Regions from separate parts of the Homo sapiens genome. Here region 1 is linked to region 2. The links are contacts of gene promoters, found by promoter capture Hi-C in blood cells and fetal thymus (Javierre and others, 2016). All regions are on one chromosome and are shown on one strand. The core of a region is centred on a gene start or on the middle of the fragment in contact, and the rest is flanking DNA. Distances in the headings are between cores, read along the strand shown.

Evidence for each region. The method cuts DNA at HindIII sites, captures the fragments that hold promoters and counts their contacts. A CHiCAGO score of 5 or more calls a contact.
Region 1: a fragment that was not itself captured here is called in contact with the fragment with the promoter of MALINC1 in region 2 in 1 of 17 cell types (naive CD8 T cells); the score reaches 5.3 in naive CD8 T cells.

The regions. Positions count from the first base shown.
Region 1 is chr5:140,641,210-140,646,575 of GRCh38, forward strand. TMCO6 (transmembrane and coiled-coil domains 6) reads left to right here. Exons shown (of 12, transcript NM_018502.5): 3 at 456-571; 4 at 661-844; 5 at 1,106-1,210; 6 at 1,377-1,462; 7 at 1,716-1,832; 8 at 2,355-2,466; 9 at 2,571-2,757; 10 at 2,891-2,985; 11 at 3,364-3,531; 12 at 3,776-4,195. The coding sequence ends at 3,889. It overlaps NDUFA2 (NADH:ubiquinone oxidoreductase subunit A2), which reads right to left. Exons shown (of 3, transcript NM_002488.5): 3 at 4,076-4,469. The coding sequence ends at 4,378. Among named protein-coding and RNA genes, the nearest start is that of NDUFA2, 3.7 kb to the right of the region's middle. The HindIII fragment of the contact is 757 bases long and covers 3,176-3,932 here.
Region 2 is chr5:140,106,094-140,111,813 of GRCh38, forward strand. MALINC1 (mitosis associated long intergenic non-coding RNA 1) reads right to left here and starts at 1,919. Exons shown (of 4, transcript NR_102741.1): 1 at 1,316-1,919; 2 at 203-397. LOC124900193 reads right to left here and starts at 3,176. Exons shown (of 4, transcript XM_047417990.1): 1 at 1,691-3,176; 2 at 203-368. The coding sequence starts at 2,892. The coding sequence ends at 1,966. RefSeq lists enhancers at 1,019-1,118, 2,229-2,730 and silencers at 1,649-1,718, 1,749-1,808, 1,819-2,078. The HindIII fragment of the contact is 3,432 bases long and covers 1-3,092 here.

The DNA.
Region 1 (5,366 bases), core at 2,304-4,803, 540 kb after region 2:
AGCTGGAGAGGGTATCCAGGCAGAAGAAATAGCATGTGCAAAAGCTCGGAAATGTAAAAAAAAGAAAAAGAAAAAGCTCATGTTAGGCTGGTTGTTGTTAGAGTGTAGGTTGCATGGGGAGAATGGCTAGAGGAGTAGGTTTTGCCAGGCTGAGAGGTTTAAATATCCTTGAAAGAACCCTGTATGAAGGCAGGATAGATATTGTTATTCTCATTTTCAGGTGAGGAAACTTAGGTTCAGGTCCCATATGGAGTAAGTGGCAGGTATGGTATTAGAACTCAGTTCTGATTCTCTGTCCACTCCACTGCAAGGTAGATGCTTATTAGTTGCATTAGTGTGAATGACAAGTTCTGAAGGTGTGATATTGGAAGGCTCACAGGTGAAGTGGGCAGAGAGAGACTTAGGACTTGCTTTCTGTGAACCGTGTGTTCTCCTTTCCCTGCCCTGAACTCCAGGTGCAGCAGTTCCTGCGGCAAGCCCAGCGGGGGACAGAGGAAAAGGAGAGAGAGGGGGCTCTGGTCAGCCTTCGTCGAGGCTTGCAGCACCCTGAAACACAGCAAACCTTCATCCGGTCAGTGTGGATGGTGTGGTGGAGGGAGGAGTTGGGGCTCTGAGGGATGGACCACAAGCTAAGCAGGGCTCTGGTACTCACTCACATAGGCTGGAGGGCAGCATGCGGACCCTGGTCGGGCTCCTGACCAGCAACCAGGCCCTGCTGCAGCTTGAGGCGGCTCGGTGCCTGCATGAGCTCTCTCACTCCGAGCAGTCCACTGTTGCTGAGGCCTGCCTGCCAGCCACTTCTTACCTCCTCACCTACCTCTCCAGTCACAGCTCAGACTTCATAGTAAGCCCTGTCCCTTCCTATCTTGTTCTTGGTTTAGATTTTAAAATTGTGCTTTTGGGACCAGTTTGAGCTGGCAGGTAGGAGGAAGAAAACATGTTTGCCCTTATGCCTACAGCCATGGCTACACCCATCATCTCCCCACCCTCTTGTGAGCCGCAAGGATAGCTGCTCCAGCGTCCCCATCACCTCCCCTCCCCATCTCCCCACACGCAGCCTGGCATGAAACAGGCCAAGCCCAGTGCTTTTGTTGCCTGTTCTCAGGAGCTGTGTCTGTATACACTGGGTAACCTGATCGTGGAGAGTGAGGCTGTGAGAAGGCAGCTCCTGCCACAGGGCATTGTTCCAGCCTTGGCTGCCTGCATCCAGGTGACTCCTTTCTTCCTCCCTGGGCAACCCTTCCTTTGCTCCTCCCCACATGCTCCATCTACTTTGGTTAGGTAGCTCCAGCCTCTGCCCTGTGCCAAGGGGCTGAAAGTCTCTGAAGACCTGATGACCCAGCTTCCAGTCAGATCCTTACCCTGTCTACTTCCAGTCCCCCCATGTGGCTGTGCTGGAAGCTCTCGGATATGCCTTGTCCCAGCTTCTACAGGCTGAGGAAGCTCCAGAGAAGATCATTCCGTGAGTAAAATTGTCTTTAGATGTGCAGCCAGAGGTGACCCACTCAGTAGTATAGCTCCCGGATGCCTGAATGATTTCCAAAGCTGTTGCACATTTTAAATTCATGTGTCTGGCTAGGAAGGGCTTTGGGTTTGGACACTTTCCCATCTGGGCAGGGCTTTGGGTTTGGACACTCTCCCACCTGCTATCAGGGTTTGGTAAGAACCACTGGCATCTTCGTGGTTCCTACTTACAGCCCTGCTTCTGCCAGCAGCTCCATCTTGGCCTCCACTCTCCCTCAGCACATGCTACAAATGTTGCAACCTGGCCCAAAGCTCAACCCTGGGGTCGCTGTGGAGTTTGCCTGGTGCCTTCATTACATCATCTGCAGGTAACAGGGCAATTGGGAAAGTACCACAGATCTTCCCTGGGGCTCCCTTCCATGACATTCAACTCTTTGAACTTGTGTCTGGAATTGCTATAGTGAGTTTTCCTCCCTCCACTGTCTTCTCTTTTTGGAGCCCAGGAGACCCACAGACCTTAGCTGTTTCTCTTTTTTTTTGAGACAGTCTCACTCTGTCACCCAGGCTGGATGGAGTACAGTGGTGCGATCTCAGCTCACTGCAACCTCTGCCTCCCGGGTTCAAGCGATTCTCCTGCCTCAGCCTCCTGAGTAGCTGAGACTACAGATGCGTGCCACTATGCCCGGCTAATTTTTGTATTTCTAATAGAGACGGAGTTTCGCCATGTTGGCCAGGCTGGTCTCAAACTCCTGACCTCAGGTGATCCACCCACCTCAGCCTCCCAAAGTGCTGGGATTACAGGCATAAGCCACCACGCCTAGGCAACTGCTTCTCTTCTTAAAGGTGGAATTGACTATATACCTAGGGACTGCTTGCTTCCTGTTGCCCAGCCAGGTCAGCAATCCTCTGCTCATTGGCCATGGGGCTCTGTCTACTCTGGGGTTGCTGCTGTTGGACTTGGCTGGGGCTGTCCAGAAAACCGAGGATGCAGGACTGGAGCTGGTAGGTGAAGATGTCAGGTGAAATTCTGGGAGATGTTTCTTGATACTCTGGAATGCAGGTAACCTCTTCCTTCTTACACCTGACCCCCCAATTTGTCTTTGCAGCTGGCATGCCCCGTGCTTCGATGTCTAAGCAACCTGCTAACTGAGGCAGCAGTGGAGACTGTGGGAGGGCAAATGCAGCTCAGAGATGAGCGTGTTGTGGCAGCCTTATTTATCCTTCTGCAGTTCTTTTTCCAGAAACAGCCCAGTCTGCTCCCTGAGGGCCTTTGGCTCCTCAACAACCTCACTGGTACGCACCATAATCTGCCCAGGCCTGGACATTTGGATAATGGGGATATTTCCTCATGGCCTAGGCTGAGGTGGGTAGTATTGACAGGGGTGGTGGGGGAAAGCAGTTTTTCACCCTGGTACTTCTCTTCCAGCAAACAGTCCTAGTTTCTGTACCTCCTTGCTCTCCCTGGATCTGATTGAGCCTCTCTTACAGCTGTTGCCAGTATCTAACGTGGTGAGCGTAATGGTATGTATTGGGGTTACTTGAATCCAAGATCTGGTAGTCGGATTGTATGGGACAGCAGTCCTGAGCCCTCAGATGTACCCTTAGTTGAGAGCCAGCAGGTGGTGGTGTGTGGCCTCAGGGCCCAACCAATCTAGGTGTGTGTCCCTTAAACTGGATTATTTATCCTTGGACAAATCAACTAACCACCTTAAGCTTCAGTCTCCTCACTTATAACTGAGGATAATCTTGCATCATAGGGTAGTTGTAGGAGTATGAGAACATGTATGTAGAAGAGCTTGGCATGGTGCCTGGGCATGTGGTCACCATGTCATATATTTTAGCTATTGTTATGATCTTTGTGTTTCATTCTTTGTAGACTATATATGTGTCTATCTGCAGGTGCTCACAGTTCTGTGCAATGTTGCAGAAAAGGGTCCTGCTTACTGCCAGCGGCTGTGGCCAGGGCCCCTGCTTCCCGCCTTGCTGCACACACTAGCCTTTTCTGACACTGAAGTAGTAGGCCAGAGTTTGGAGCTGCTGCATCTGCTGTTCCTGTATCAGCCAGAGGTATAGGTTTCTGGCCCACATCCTCAGTCACCCCTGTTCTGAAGCCACACAGTGGCTCCCTTCCCATCCAGTCCTAACTATAGTTGTTTCTCTGGGCCTGGCTAACCTATATAGGTTCCATGTCAGAAACTTCATCCTCTTGTTGGGGAATGCACCCTCTGGAGTAGGCTGACCCATGAGGCTGTGGGAATTGAGTCTTAGGACACAGAGACCAGGTGTGTTGAATTTTCTTCCCTGCCCCTAGGCTGTTCAGGTCTTCCTGCAGCAGTCAGGGCTGCAAGCCCTGGAAAGGCATCAGGAAGAGGCCCAGCTCCAGGATCGTGTGTATGCTCTCCAGCAGACAGCTCTTCAAGGGTGATCTTGTTTCTCAATGTCACTCATTCCCCTCTCTCTTAACATCAAGCTTGTTTGTCCAGTAGAGCCTTTGGAGATTTAGGACCATAATGAGGTCTCATGTTCTCTGCTCCCACACCTAAGCCAAGACCTTTGGGTCCCAGCTCCTCCCCTTCCACTCAGCACTATCCAGGCAGGAGGACCAAAAGGGACTCAGTGTGGTCTACTTACTCTGGGGCCCTAGAATCCCTGCCCCCCCGCCACCCTTCATGTTTGCTTCAGCAGCTGGTAGCTTTTGATGAGACAGAATAAAGTTTTATTTTTATATTAAGCTACTTTGCCTCAGTGGTTGCACAGTAAGGGGTAGAGGGTAGATGAGGACAAGAACACCCTGAGAAAGTATTTTACAGCACAAGCTTTATGAGGAATAGGAGAACACATTTTTTTCACATTATACTAAGTCCAGCAGAGCCCAGGCTCTGGGGCTGTTGCTCTTAATCCTCAGTGGAGGCTTCAGGCTTTACCACTTAGAACGTTCTCCAGGGCTCTGGTTACCTGATCAGCACTGAAGTTGTTCAAAGGGACATTCGTCTCTTGGCCAAATGCTGAAGAGAGAGAGGGAGGTGTCTTTAACTATTCTGCACCCTGGAGGCTACCAAAGTAAAATAAAAGATCTTTGTCTTTATCTTAGTCTTGTTAAGACAGGAAGAGTATTAAAGAGATATGATCAAAATACATTTGGTATGCCTAGAATTAATACAATAGGTCTCAAACACATCTAGGAAGCCCAAGTCCAAATAGAATTTTGGCTGATTCTGGATGGCCGCAATGGGTTGTTTCAGGGAAGCTTTCGGGGGCACTGTAGGCATTTATTATTAACTACGGTGAGCAATGTATTGCATGGGTCCAGCCTCAGCTGGGAGCCCATTCTCTCTCTTTTTTTTTTTTTTTTTTTGAGACGGAGTCTCGCTCTGTCACCCAGGCTGGAGTGTGGTGGCACGATCTCCACTCACTGCAACCTCCACCTCCTGGGTTCAAGCAATTCTCCTGCCTCAGCCTCCTGAGTAGCTGGGATTACAGGTGCCCGCCACCACACCCGGCTAATTTTTGTATGTTTAGTAGAGACGGGGTTTTACCATGTTGGCCAGGCTGGTCTTGAACTCCTGACCTCAGGTGATCCACCTGCTTCAGCCTCCCAAAGTGCTGGGATTACAGGCGTGAACCACCGCACCCAGCTGGGTACCCATTCTCTAGGCTCCCATAGGCTATCTAACATAATACCCAGCACAATACACTAAAGTTACTCGTGTCTATCTCCTCCTGTAGTCTACTGGCTTTTGGAAGGAGAAGCTTTTTTCCTTCTCCAATTATTAGTGCATGTCTAATGTCTACTGTGTCTCACAGATATCTACTCTGAGAACCAATCTGCTTAAGGTGGTCACTCTCCTCCACCTCCTCCCGTCATTCCCAGGGCACCATATAGTTAAAAGCTGTGATTAAAA
Region 2 (5,720 bases), core at 669-3,168:
GATCATTAAATCACCAGTTTCTAATCTCCACAATACAGTTGGAAACATTTAGGACAGAATATCCTTTAGGATATTAAGATGCAGAAGACTGTACTTCGAAGGATATTTATATAGTAGTGCTGCCACCTAAAGATGAGGTGAATATAAAGAAGCAATTCAAAGGAAATGACCCATCACCCTTAAGCCAGTCTCATTTTCTCACCTCCAGCTAGGAATTAATAAGCGTGTTGCTGTTGTTGTTGTCATTAACAGGGAAGTTGAACTGTTTCGCAATCACTTATTTCTGAGCTTTAATCCTCTGTGCCAGATAATTTCAGACTCAAACCTTTTCTAGTCCTCTGCGATTCTTCTCAGCCATCAGGCACTGCCTACAATACGTAAGAGGCAGCAAAAGATACTTGGAAAAAAACAATTGAGAGATTTCTGGTTTAGTGAATAAAGCAGGCAATAATAGACCTTAGAGTTTTCCCTTTATCAGTGATAGACTCCTCACAATGCTGAACAACTGACTTACATTTTGATAACTAAATTTTCATCTGTAAAATGGGAGTAATTATACCTTAGTCCTACTTGCCTCGCAGGCTCAACTAGATATGCTTCTGGGAAAGATTCTCTAACAAGTGAGTTTAAAAGTCTACCACTGCCTAACAAAGAGGGATTTTGTGGTATATTTGCAAAGTAACTTCAAAACAAAATAGTTAAATAGGTTGAGGCAATGATTAAGTTTTCCTAAATCACAGTTTGACTTCTCGGAGGTCTATTTAAATAATGATAAAGATGATAAATGCAGTTTTTATTTTGCTGCAGTTATTAGCTGATCCACGTTCCATCTACGTATTCAGTGTTGCAGGATGGAGACGTGACAGCGTAGAAAGCGAGCAAAAGCGTTACCGTGCACCAAAAATCTTGTCAAACTTGATACGATTTCAAGAAGACTGTCTTAAAGGACATTTTATAATTTCACATTTAGCCCTTGCATAGCATTTTATGAAAATTAACTTTTACCCTTTCCCCCTCGGCCCAAGGAAGTCGCATTCCCTCAAAGGGGCCCGGCTTCAACATATTACACTGCGTGGGAGGCTGGGCAGCAACCCCACGCTTCCTGTCAAGGATTCCTGGGGCCAGAGCCTGAAAAGTGCTCTAGCCACTCTTCTCTATGCTAATTCTGTCCTTCCGACCCCTCTTGGCGGGTGTCTGAGGGCCAAGGTGAGACTTTCCCCGGAGATGAAAGGCCTATTGCCTCTTCAGAGACCCGGGCGGAGTTGGGGCGGGGGTGCCGCGTGATAGGGTGGTAGCAGAAGTCGCAACGACGCACAGGGCCCTAAGTTGGAGCTGGCGCAGGCCCTTCAGGGTTCTATCCCCGCCAGAGCCTGGCTTCGGCCTTCAGAAGCCAAACGAGTAATAGGTCCTTCTGGGGCGCTGTGGGCGGTGGGTGGAGGAAGTGTGGGCGGAGAGGCCACAGACATCCCCCTCCTCAGACGCGCCCCAAGGCCTGGCCCGCGGAATGTTGACGCGCCAGGAGCCGATAGGGCGCGCTCACGCGCGAGAAGGGGGCGGAAAGAGCGCGCTCGGCGGCCGCCGCGGCGGCAGCTAAAACGGAGGGACGCGAGAGCGAAGGGCGCGAGCCACGGAGTTGGGAGGAGGGGTGGGGAACGCGGAGCGCGCGCTGACGTCGCCTGGAGTCACGCACGGAGCGCCGGGTTACGCGCCGACGTCTGGCTGCCACGACTTGCCGTCTGCGGCGGCGGCGGCGGCGGCGAGCGGATCCCGCAGGGGAAGGAGGAGGAGGAGGGAGAGCCAAGGGGGCTGTGAGTGAGCGGGAGAAGCAGGGTGTGAGCCGGACTTGCCCATGGGAGGGAGAGCGAGCGAGAGCCGAGCCAGCCATCCGAGCCGCCTCCTCCTCCTCCCCTCGGCGTCCCGCCCCCGCCCGCCAGCCCGCCCTCCTTCCTCCTCAGCCCGCAGAGCCTAAGTGAGGCGCAGCTCGGCTAGCGCCGCTGTCCAGGACAGGTGTGCGCGCGCGCGCCCTCCTCCCCTCCCCCCTTCCTCGCGCCTGTCTCGCGCGCGCCCTCCCTCCCGCCAGCCTGCGCCCTCCCTCACCTGCGGCAGGACAGCGCCCGCCCGCCCGGGTAAGCCCCTCGCGACCTTCCCTGCTGCCACTGCCACAGCTCCAGGTGACGCTCGCCCCGTCCCCTTTACTTGCTCTCTCAGCCCAGGAATAATTATAGTACCATTGCAGACATCCCCGCACCCTCCCTCTTGGAGACCCAGGCGGTGCAGCAACGTTCTCTCCCACCCCCCGCAGCGAGAAACGAATGAACCCCCTCCTACTTTCAAAAGAGAACAAAATAACACGCCCCTTAAGAAAAGAGGCGATCCTACCTCCGCAGGCGCTGGAGACCACCAGTGATGCGTTTGCTTAGCAATCCCTGAGCCCCATTTCCCCTGGCCGCCTTCGCCCTGGGGCCTGGGACTGTGCGCTAGACGTGGCTGACACTCCCTGCACGGCAACCCTGGAAGGAGGGAGAGGAAGGAGAGTTCTATAACCCAGGCTTCACTGCCAACCCCTCCTCTGTTCGGTTCCCCCCACCCCACTACCACCAAATGCATACACCCGCCCAGGATGCGTTGTAAAAACAAAACAAAACCAGGAAAAAAAAAAAAAAAACCTTTGGTGCTGACATCGCAGATGAAGCCGGGCCCAAAGATGGGTGGCCCGAACAAGGCATTTTTACTGCCCCACAGCGCTGGGTCAGCTCCACAGCTCCTCTGCCTTTGTCCGAGGGCAAAAGGAACGGATGTGAAGCTGAGGGGTCTTCTCTGTGAGCGGCGGTGGGCCCCGGAGGCGGGCTGTGATGTTTGTAGGGGAAGGCACCCAACCAATATATCTGCCATAAACCTGAACTTGGGTTGGAGAGCCCCCAGAGACTGGCTGGGGTAACTGGTTCGTAGCTGTCTACCCCGGAATAAATGCCACCTTCTTTTCCGCGGTGTCTGCGGGACCCTCTGTTGGGGGTTCTAATTCGTTTTGGCCTGGGCTCCTTACATTTCTGTCCGGCCAGGCGCTTTTGGACAGCTTTTCGCAGCGGTGTCTAAGCTTGTGTTCGGTGTCCTTGGAAGGGAGGTCCCAGAGCTTTACAATAGGCTGGATTTGGTTTGACATCTTTTGGTGGACTGTCAAAGGGGAAAGGAAATTTTTGGATTACTTCAAGATCCCCCACCGCCCCCGCCCAACTGACGTTTGCGAATTGCGGCTTTGGAAATTGGAGTGTTGACTAGAGTGTGGAGAGAGAGTTGCTGATTTCATTGCTTTGAGTACTAGTAAAACCATTTAAGTATCAGCCGGAAGGGAGACAGCTATTGACATTTACATCGGTTCTGTTTGGACCTTTGGGGTACATAAAATGTCGGGTTCTCTGAATTTTTTATCGAATTTAGAATGTCTGCTACATTTATTTAACTTCTGCAAATGCTTAAAATGAAAACATTTTGGAAATGCGAGGATTTTTATCAAGTGGATTGTTCTCTTCATATATTAAATGTTTACTTCATATCTTTAATCCGAAACATTAAAATAGCATTGAAGAGGCATGATTTTCAAGATTAAGTGAGCTATGGAAAAGGAATACGCTTTTAAAGAACGATCTGGGAAATGCTGTTACTATTAGTCATTGTTGTTGTTAAATGTTAAGATTTATTTGAGAGTTTCTCAATTTTTTTGGTAGACAGTCATGAGAAGAAATGGCTAATTCCTCCACTTTGAACATTTACAGTACAACATCCCAGTTAGTTTTAATGATTTGGGTATTGAAGATAGTTGTCTGGTTTAAGACTGGTATTTAATCTAAGTATCACTTGAAAACACAAGCTCTAATGTTCTTTATTTTGGAAATTTGTGATTTTGTAAAATATTAATCAACATATTGTTTCTATTAGGAACTCTATAATCAGAAGGGTTTACTACCCAGAGGTAGACAACCTCTTTCCAAGTCTATTTTATAAATGTGTGTTGATTTTTACTTTATAAAACCAAAACTGAATTAGATTATTTCAGAATCACCTGTAGTCAGGCTGAAGAAAATTAAAGCTTTTTTCTTTTTTGTTCTGCCTAATGTGTATTTCTTTGCGCACAATTTTTTGTTGGTAAGAGTTTGTTAAATACATAGAGACAGTGGGATTAAAAATAAAGCAGTCTCTATTCTCTTTAAAATGTGTCTGTTGTATTAATAATAAAAGGGCTCAAGAAATCTAGAGACATTATGTCTTTGTAAGCATATTGTGAGGAGAAAGGAAATGTTTACTTTTTGATGTTTTTCATTAACATGGATTTTTGCTGCATATTAATTTGCTGTATATTTCGTTTTCCCTTTGTCTTTCCTACATTCTAATGAAATTATACATTTAGTTTTACAACTATTTGTTTTACATTAACAAATTCAAACAGCTGGATACTAGAACAGACTTCATTCACCAAGTTAGTATATTGTTTAGATTATTAACAAATGGTTAGAAGTCTTAAAATCCACTTATTTTCTAATGACTTTTCAGTGTTACAATGCAAATATAACTGTGAAGTTTTATTTAAAGTTTAAACTTTTTGTTTTAAGACTTCTGGAAGTTTATATTCATTTCTCCCAGATTGCCTTTTAAGGCTACTGTACACTATAGCCCAAAGAAAGCTGCCTTTCACCTCCTTAGTCTGAGAAAAAGCCCACACTTAAAGGCTTATTCTGAAATTAACTCTCGTTTCAGTAGTGAAAATATGCTAAAAATCCTATTTATCATTGAATTATTTTGGAAAGGCATTGTTAATCTTGTTTGCTTTTTAGATACACATATAAAGTAGAGAAGCTGGCAAATAAGGGCAAAAGTTTTATACATATATAATGAATAGCATAAAACAAGTACATATTTATGTGGAGAGATCTAGGTCCCAGTAATTTGCTGATTTGACCTTAAAATTCCCAGTTTAAGTGTACAAATGAGATTCAACTTGTGTTCTGTCTGGAAACTTCATCAGTTGCCTCTGCGCTGGGTAACTAAGAAGTCAGTTCTTGGTGGCAGTCACTTTTTCAGAAAAACAGGGCACTTCCAAACTCAAATCATTCGGAATCCCTGTATATAGACGTCTAGGACGGAGGGCAAGAAAATTTAGACTGCAAGTCGGGATAGGAAGGCGGGAAGTTGGGATACGAAGGCGGGAAGTTGGGATAGGAAGGCGGGGCAGTTTCGAGTCTTAGTCTTCTGTCCTGGGGGCAGCAATCAGCACGGAAGAAAGGCAGGGACTGGCAGGGGGGGTGGGTGGGGCCCTCATCGTATTCTCATTGGCCTTGTTGCTGCCTTGAGTTTTCATTAGGGAGCAGGGGCTTGGTTTGACGCAAGGTAAACTCTTGAGGAAGAGCAGCAGCCCTTCTAGATCGGATTGTACCAGATCTTAGCCTCAGTTTACAAGTGAAACATAATGTCCCACTCCATTCTCTGTGGAGAGCCTGCTACTGAGCCTTTTTGTCCCTGGAGGCGCTGGGGTCTATCCAGAGTCCTGATTGCTACTGTTCGAGCCTGGAGGAGTTACTGCTTCTTCACACGTGTATTTCTGTGCAGTTCAAAGTGCTTCAAAAGTTCCTGTGTCCCCTTCTCAATAGACTTTGGGACAGGGGAAGGAGTGCAGAAAAAATCAACACGGAAAGAGTACTACAGGGTACTAGAGGTTGCCTCCCAAATAA